Regions from separate parts of the Homo sapiens genome. Here regions 1 and 2 are each linked to region 3. The links are contacts of gene promoters, found by promoter capture Hi-C in blood cells and fetal thymus (Javierre and others, 2016). All regions are on one chromosome and are shown on one strand. The core of a region is centred on a gene start or on the middle of the fragment in contact, and the rest is flanking DNA. Distances in the headings are between cores, read along the strand shown.

Region 1 (2,700 bases), core at 98-2,597, 700 kb after region 3:
GGCGGCGGGGCAGAGGTGCTCCCCACATCCCAGACGATGGGCTGCCAGGCAGAGACGCTCCTCACTTCCTAGATGGGATGGCGGCCGGGCAGAGACGCTCCTCACTTTCCAGACTGGGCAGCCAGGTAGAGGGGCTCCTCACATCCCAGACGATGGGCGGCCAGGCAGAGACGCTCCTCACTTCCCAGACGGGGTGGCGGCCGGGCAGAGGCTGCAATCTCGGCTCTTTGGGAGGCCAAGGCAGGCGGCTGGGAGGTGGTTGTAGCGAGCCGAGATCACGCCACTGCACTCCAGCCTGGGCACCATTGAGCACTGAGTGAACGAGACTCCGTCTGCAATCCCGGCACCTCGGGAGGTCGGGGCTGGCGGATCATTCGCGGTTAGGAGCTGGAGACCAGCCCGGCCAACACAGCGAAACCGTCTCCACCAAAAAAATACGAAAACCAGTCAGGCGTGGCGGCACGCGCCTGCAATCGCAGGCACTCGGCAGGCTGAGGCAGGAGAATCAGGCAGGGAGGTTGCAGTGAGCCGAGATGGCAGCAGTACAGTCCAGCTTCGGCTCGGCATCAGTGGGAGACCGTGGAAAGAGAGGGAGAGGGAGACCGTGGAGAGGGCGAGGGCGAGGGCGAGGGCGAGGGAGAGGGAGAGGGAGCTATGTACCCTTTTTTTGAGAAAGTACATCTGGTTAAGTATGTATTTTTCATTGAAAACTAAAGTTAAATCAGGACTGATGGCATTTTCCGACTGCATTTGGTAAAAAATAAATGCCAAAAATATTAGATTGAAAATGCCAAGATAAAACTTCCTTACCTTCTGTATTGTAAAAGTTTCAAGAATAATTTAAAGATTTTTGCACAACACAGAAAGTGCAAGTTATCGTCTATAGTTAATAATTAAATAAAACAGTTTATTAATGGTAGGTAATAAAGGTGCTTAGTAAAACAGATGGTTCTCCAGTTCCCCAGGCTCAATGAGCAGGCAAAGATCCTTTTAGGCAAAAGACATTTTCACATCTAACAGTAACATCTCTGATGGTCAGGCAGGTCAAACAATCACTTGGCGGGAAATAGATAAATACAGACTAAATTCGCACAATCTGTTTCTGTTTAGTTTATAAACTGCGATCCAGAGTGTCAGCTTTCGTGCCTTGTGGGACTTGAAGTCCAGAAGGAAGAAGTGATCAGGGCTGCCGAGGGATGGAAGCGTGCAGCCCCTGCAGGTCTGAGACCTACGAACTACAACTCCCGGCAAGCATCGGAAGGCCGCGTCGTAATTGCGGGCAACCAATCGTACCAGAGCAGGGCAAGCCCCCGCCCTCTGGCTCGGTGGAAGGCCTCCGCCAATGGCAGAGCTCCCATCGCAGAGCCTGCGGGTTAGGTTGTGAGGCCCGGGCCGGGGGCGGGGAGGAGCCAAGGGGGCGAGCAAGCTCGGTGGCTGGGTGGGTTGGGGCGTTCCGCGCGCCCTTCATTGAAGCGGCGGTGGCCGGGCTGGGCGCCGGTAGTGGAAAGCGACGGCGCGGCTGGAAAATGCCAGTCCATTCCCGAGGGGATAAGAAGGAGACCAACCATCACGATGAGATGGAGGTGGACTACGCCGAAAATGAGGGGAGCAGCTCCGAGGACGAGGACACTGAGAGCTCGTCGGTCTCCGAGGATGGAGATAGCTCAGGTGCGCGACCCACTGCTGGGACCCTGAGTCCCCGCGCCCAGCGCGCGACAGGCCGCTCTCCGCACGCCAGGCGGCTGCGTCCTGCTGGGAAAGCGGGGCGGGGACAGAGGGAAGGGGCGGAGACTGGCTCTGGGCCCTGGGCTGCACCCTGACCGGTCGCTGGGCGCTGTCTGGCTCCTGATGGGTCCCGGCGGCGGGGCGGGGCGGGCCTGGGCTTGTCCAGCTCCCAAACGCGGCGTGGTCCTGCCCCCGGTGGTGCTCTGGAGCGACCAGCCCAGGCGGACAACTTCCCGCAGCAGACAAACTGGAAATGCCTCCTCTCCCCAGCCCACCGACCTCTTTCCCTATTTTCACCTTTGCAACCCTCACTTCTCAGCGCAAGTGAGTTGCCGGGACAGAGGGTCGGCTTAGTAATTAACCTCAGTTTGCAAGTCAACTTGCCGGTCAGCACTTTTACATCAGTGTCTTTTCGGGGGCTAACTTGAGAGCGGTCCCGTTCAGTAGCTCCCTGAAGTTTGCAAGACTGAGAGGAAGGGACCAACATTCGGGCTCATTTTGGATCTTCATATGCTTATAAATTGGCTGAGTTTTGGCAGCGTTGAAAATTCTCCAAGTCTTTTCTTCCCTTCAGTTTTTTCTAACTTTGGGCTGTTTTAAATTATTTTGGGTGGGGGAGGAGGGCAGATTAACACTACAAATAAATTTTGCAAACTTTTAGGAATGGTTATTCTAAAGTGAAATGGAATTTGTGATTACCGGGATTATTTTCTTTCGATTCAAATGATGGAGATGAGACTGACTTCTTTGTCTTGGCCTGATTTTGGTCATGTAAAGGAAGCATTGATGATAGGTTGATGACAGCCTAGTATCACCCAGATGCCCTCTTTTCATGTTTCCCTTGCAAAGCAAATCTCCATGGAAGGATATAATTTCAATCAGTAAATCAGCCATCCAAAAATATTTATGAGTGACTTCTTTGTGCAGCACTGGACAGTACTCAATATGAGGGATAAATAGTTATTATCTGGGCTC
Region 2 (2,700 bases), core at 103-2,602, 520 kb before region 3:
TCATCCAAACACAGGTTCCAAGATTTGTATCAGTCATTCAGTAAAAAATTTTTTGCCAGCACTATGAACGAAGAAATCTTTAAAGTGCAATCACCTCGGCCAGGCATGGTGGCTCACACCTGTAATCCCAGCACCTTGGGAGGCCGACGCAGGCAGATCACCTGAGGTCAGGAGTTCGAGACCAGCCTGACCAATATGGTGAAACCCTGTCTCTATTAAAATATAAGAATTAGCCAGGTATGGTGGCTACTCGGGAGGTGGAGGCAGAGGAGTCGCTTGAACCTGGGAAGCAGAGGTTGTACTGAGTCGATACAGTGCCATTGCACTCCAGCCTGGGCGACAGAGACTCTGCCTCAAAAAAAAAAAAAGAGAGTTTTTAGGCAGGGAAGGAAAAAATAAGGAGTGATCAGCACCAATGGTCAGTTAAACAGATCCAGAGTCAATAATTTACCCGAATCTGGAATTCTTTAGCTCAATCACCTCCTTGGAATTCTCCACAAGGCTTCGGAAGACTCCAAACTCAAATTTAAGAAACATTAGTCAATGTGATAACCCTATTTCTTTTTTTTTTTTTTTTTTTTTTTTGAGACGGAGTCTCGCTTTGTCACCCAGGCTGGAATGCAGTGGCGCAACCTTGGCTCACTGCAACCTCCGCCTCCCGGGGTCAAGCGATTCTCTTGCCTCAGTCTCCCGAGTAGCTGGGACTACAGGCATGCGCCACCAAGCCCAGCTAATTTTTGTATTTTAAGTAGAGACGGGGTTTCACCATATTGGCCAGGCTGGTCTCAAACTCCTGACCTCGTGATCCGCCCACCTCGGCCTCCCAAAGTGCTGGATTATAGGCTGAGCCACCGTGCCTGGCTCCTACTTCTTAAGAGGTTTGCAATTAAGGATTACAAAAAAAATCAGTGTCCCTTGTAGTAACATGATTTATTTTTTATTTTTATTTTTTGAGATGGGAATTTCAGTCTTGTCCCCCAGGCTGGAGTGCAATGGCACCATCTTGGCTCTCTGCAACCTCCGCCTCCCAGGTTCAAGTGATTCTCCTGTCTTAGCCTCCCGAGTAGCTGGGATTACAGGCGCCCACCACCATGCCCAGATAATTTTTGTATTTTTAGTACAGATGGGGTTTCACCATGTTGGCCAGGCTCGTCTCGAACTCCTGACCTCAGGTGATCTGCCCGGCTTGGCCTCCCAAAGTGCTGGGATTACAGGTTACAGGCATGAGCCACCATGCCTGGCTAGTAACATGCTTAACTATCATTCTGTCAATTAATCTACTCAAGTTCTACTGAAATAACTGCATTACTACTGAAAAAGTGTCACTTAAACTACCTTGAAAAATACAAACAGGCCAGGTGCGGCTCACGCCTCTAATCCCAGCACTTTGGGAGGCTGAGGCAGGTGGATCACCTGAGGTCAGGAGTTCGAGACCAGCCTGGCCAACATGGTGAAACTCCATCTCTACTAAAAATACAAAAATTAGGCCGGGCGCAGTGGCTCATGCATGTAATCCCAGCACTTTGGGAGGCTAAGGTGGGAGGATCACCTGAGGCTGGGAGTTTGAGACCAGCCTGACCAACATGGAGAAACCCCGTCTCTACTAAAAATACAAAAATTATCTTGGCATGGTGGCGCATTCCTGTAATCCCAGCTACTTGAGAGTCTGAGGCAGAAGAATTGCTTGAACCAAGGAGGCAGAGGTTGTGGGTGAGCTGAGATCGCACCGTTGCACTCCAGCTTGGGAAACAAGAGCGAAACTGTCTTAAAAAAAAAAAAAAAATTAGCTGGGCATGGCGGCATGCGCCTGTAGTCCCAGCTACTTGGGAGGCTGAGGCACGAGAATCACTTGAACTTGGGAGGAGGAGGTCACAGTGAGCCAAGATTGCGCCACGGCACTTCAGCCTGGACGACAGAGCAAGACTCTGTCTCAAAAAAAAAAAAAAAAAGAAAAATACAAACATTCTAAAAAAAGACCTTGAGCCTTTTCTAACTACTCTTGCCTTTTCCAATGACTCTTTAAAAAGAGAACTTGGGGCCGGGCACGGTGGCTTATGCCTGTAATCCCAGCACTTTGGGAGGCTGAGGTGGGTGGATCACGAGGTCAGGAGATCGAGACCATCCTGGCTAACACAGTGAAACCCCGTCTCTACTAAAAATACAAAAAATTAGCAGGGCATAGTGGCGGGCGCCTGTAGTCCCAGCTACTCGGGAGGCTGAGGCAGGAGAATGGCATGAACCCGGGAGGCGGAGCTTGCAGTGAGCTGAGATGACGCCACTGCACTCCAGCCTGGCTGACAGAGCGAGACTCCGTCTCAAAAAAAAAAAAAAAACTTGGGCTGGGCGCTATGGCTCACGCCTGTAATCCTAGCACTTTGGGAGGCCGAGGTGGGTGGATCATGAGGTCAGGAGATCGAGACCATTCTGGCTAACACGGTGAAACACCATCTTTACTTCAAAATAGAAAAAATTAGCTGGGCGTGGTGGCAGGCGCCTGTAGTCCCAGCTACTAGGGAGGCTGAGGCAGGAGAATGGCATGAACCCGGGAGGCGGAGCTTGCAGTGAGCCAAGATCATGCCACTATGCCACTGTACTCCAGCCTGGAAGACAGAGCGAGATTCCGTCTCAAAAAAAAAAAGAAGAAGAAGAAGAAAAAGAAAACTTGACCACCAATCAATGTGATACTCACATCTTGATTAT
Region 3 (2,700 bases), core at 188-2,687:
CTCCTTTCTTAATGAGATATATATTAAAATACAAGTTCATCAGCTTAAAGTAAGAAGCGGGTAGGACAGACTGCAGGTGTAGGAGATGAGAAGAATAGTGTAAAAGAGTGTTGCCTGGGTGCGGCGGCTCACGTCTGTAATAGCAACACTTTGGGAGGTGGAGGTAGGAAGACTGCCTGAGGCCAGGAATTCGAGACCAGCCCAGGCAACATAGCAAGACCTCATCTCCACTAAAAATAAAAAATTAGCCGGGTGTGGTGGCGTGTGCCTGTACTTCTAGCTGCTCAAGAGGCTGGGGTGGGAAGATCCCTTGAGCCCAGGAAATCGAGGTTGCAGCAATACTTCACTGCGCCGCTGCACTCCAGCCTGGGCAACACAGGGAGATCCTGTATCGGAAAAAAAAAAGTGTATTTAGGAAAACACAGATTGGCAGTTTGGGAGATGAAAATTGAATGTAGGAGAATGAACGTCCAGGAAAACACGGTAGACATGACCAAAACACCTTCTTTAGATTAGTGGACTTGTATTAAAAGTGAGATAACTCGGCGGGGCGCGGTGACTCACGTCTGTAATTCCAGCACTTTGGGAGGCCGAGGTGGGCGAATCACAAGGTCAGGAGTTTGAGACCAGCCTGGCCAATATGGCGAAACCCCGTCTCTACTAGAAATACAAAAATTAACCGGCCGTGGTTGCGCGCGCTTATAGTTCCAGCTACTCCAGAGGCTGAGGCAGAAGAACCGCTTGAACCCGGGAGGCAGAGGTTGCAGTGAGCGGAGATGCTGCCACTGCACTCCAGCCAGCCTGGGCGACAGAGCAAGAGACTCCGTCTCAAAAAAAAAAGTGAGACAACTCACCAAGGTTCTGTTTTTCTCCAGCCACTTTCAACAGCCCTTAGTGCGGGTGTGGAATAGGAAAGGTAGATTTAACGAGGTTAGTTAATAAGCAATGTGAAGGAGAAAAATAAAAGGAAAAATGGATTATGAAATATAAAATGGATTACGAGGGAAGCAAAAAGCGTGACAGTAAAAAGGCAGGAGGACAATTATAGGTCCTGGTGGGGTTCAGGCGTTGTTGGAGCCGGGGTTCCAAGTTATTCTTCACAAGTTTAGATTAAGACCATGGAAGTCAGTGACTAAAGCTAAGTTTTTCGTTCCTCTAGATTCTGCCCCAGGAAAGTTTGGGTCAAACCTATCGGGATCCTTAAACCACATTCCACTCCGCCTCCTTTGTCGGGAGGTTTCACAGAAGCGGAAAAGGCGGCTCCCCCTTGCTCCTCCTCCCCACCTCCCCCCTACCTCTAGGAGTTTAGGGCCGGGCCATCCCAACGGGCTGCCCCTCCCAAAACTCACTGTTTGGACAGGTGTTGGGCGTCGCTAGGCGCCGACGAAGAACTTCTTTCCAGTCCATGGCCGACTTCCGCGCAGCAGCTTCTGCATTTGCTGTTTCCTACCTGCTCCACCCCTACCAGCTCAGGCGTCAGCACCGCCAGGCCCCGTAAAGGTTAGGAAGGCCGTCCAACCACCATCTTGATCGAGGGCGGAAGTCTTGGCTAAAGAGGCAAAAACAATTACTGTCACTGCCGCGGAGAATACCGCTACCACGCTGACTGGGGGAAAAAACTATGAAAGAGATGGAAAATGGTTCTCCTTCAGAGGCGACCCAAGCTCACCAAGCCGGATTTTAAAGGCCACGATAAGCCCGCGTTTTCCTTTATCGTGTGCCTTTGGCGCGTGCGCACCACGTGACCCAGGAGTTCATTAGTTCCGGCTTGAGGGAAGCGCCTTCTTTCACAATTTCTTTTCATTGTTCATTGCGGATATCTGGAAGCCTTCCAGGTCCCCTGAATGTAGTAGACACTTCAGCAGCCGTCTCCTACCCCTTTTGCCACTAAATGCTTCAAAACTGCCTTTTTTCCTCGCCGCCGGGCCAGGCGGAACGCCTAAGTCCGGGTCAGTCTCGTCCGTCGGTCGGGGCTGGCGCGGTGCATCGTGGGCACTGTAGTTTCCGCCGCGTTTATGGCCGCGTTAAGTCTGAGTGCCGCTTTGAGTTGTTGAATGAAGTGAACTTCATTTGTCAGCGTTCGGTACGCAGTCTAGGCAGCGCCCTTCCTGTACCTCTCTTCCTTTCCTGAGTCGTTGGCGCAGCTGACTCGCCACCTCCTCCCTCCTCGTCCCCCCACCGGAGGAGTTTTGCGGTCTGTAGAGAGCTATGCAGGGTGAGGGCCCCTAGACTTCGGCTTTCGCCGCTGTTGGTGGTAGGCTGGAGTTGGGGGTCCCTGGATACGGTTTTGGCTTTACACCCCCTTTCCAGCAAGCTTCCCGTGGGAATCTGTTCCTTTTCAGGACAGCTGTGATCCACGTGAGTAAAACTGGGCGTTCCGTCTTGTGCTTTTTCCTCAGGTTCATGAACTGGAATGTAAGAGGCACCAGAGGATTCCTGCTCTGTCCCCTGGTTTGCGGCTTGCGACGTTGGACATCCCCGGATTGTTGTTTAATAGAGAAAACTCACCTGCCTTCTTGCTTTTAAGTAGCCCCAAAAGCAGAACCTTGATTTGTCTGTAAGGAAGAAACACAAACCTTTTAAAAAGTTCCACTTCGACTCTGCACCGCCGACCCCCAATCTCTTTAATTTTGCCATAGAAGAGGGGTTTTTTCAACATCTCTCTCACTATCTGGTGCTGATCTCACTGCATAATGACTT

What was found. The method cuts DNA at HindIII sites, captures the fragments that hold promoters and counts their contacts. A CHiCAGO score of 5 or more calls a contact.
Region 1: a contact is called between the fragment with the promoter of BRMS1L here and the fragment with the promoter of PPP2R3C in region 3, in 1 of 17 cell types (total B cells). The highest score is 5.4, in total B cells.
Region 2: a contact is called between a fragment that was not itself captured here and the fragment with the promoter of PPP2R3C in region 3, in 1 of 17 cell types (erythroblasts). The highest score is 5.1, in erythroblasts.

The regions. Positions count from the first base shown.
Region 1 is chr14:35,824,991-35,827,690 of GRCh38, forward strand. BRMS1L (BRMS1 like transcriptional repressor) reads left to right here and starts at 1,348. Exons shown (of 10, transcript NM_032352.4): 1 at 1,348-1,668. The coding sequence starts at 1,527. RefSeq lists silencers at 1,389-1,488, 1,739-1,908. The HindIII fragment of the contact is 11,609 bases long and covers 1-2,700 here.
Region 2 is chr14:34,600,659-34,603,358 of GRCh38, forward strand. SNX6 (sorting nexin 6) reads right to left here. Exons shown (of 14, transcript NM_152233.4): 6 at 2,690-2,700. Among named protein-coding and RNA genes, the nearest start is that of SNX6, 28 kb to the right of the region's middle. The HindIII fragment of the contact is 6,636 bases long and covers 1-2,700 here.
Region 3 is chr14:35,120,553-35,123,252 of GRCh38, forward strand. It overlaps PPP2R3C (protein phosphatase 2 regulatory subunit B''gamma), which reads right to left and starts at 1,438. Exons shown (of 13, transcript NM_017917.4): 1 at 1,350-1,438. The coding sequence starts at 1,407. PRORP (protein only RNase P catalytic subunit) reads left to right here and starts at 2,000. Exons shown (of 8, transcript NM_014672.4): 1 at 2,000-2,083; 2 at 2,400-2,700. The coding sequence starts at 2,694. PRORP-PSMA6 (PRORP-PSMA6 readthrough) reads left to right here and starts at 1,287. Exons shown (of 15, transcript NR_182666.1): 1 at 1,287-1,500; 2 at 2,400-2,700. RefSeq lists enhancers at 642-1,841, 1,061-1,980, 1,224-1,353, 1,894-1,973, 1,981-2,700 and 1 more. The HindIII fragment of the contact is 10,079 bases long and covers 1-2,312 here.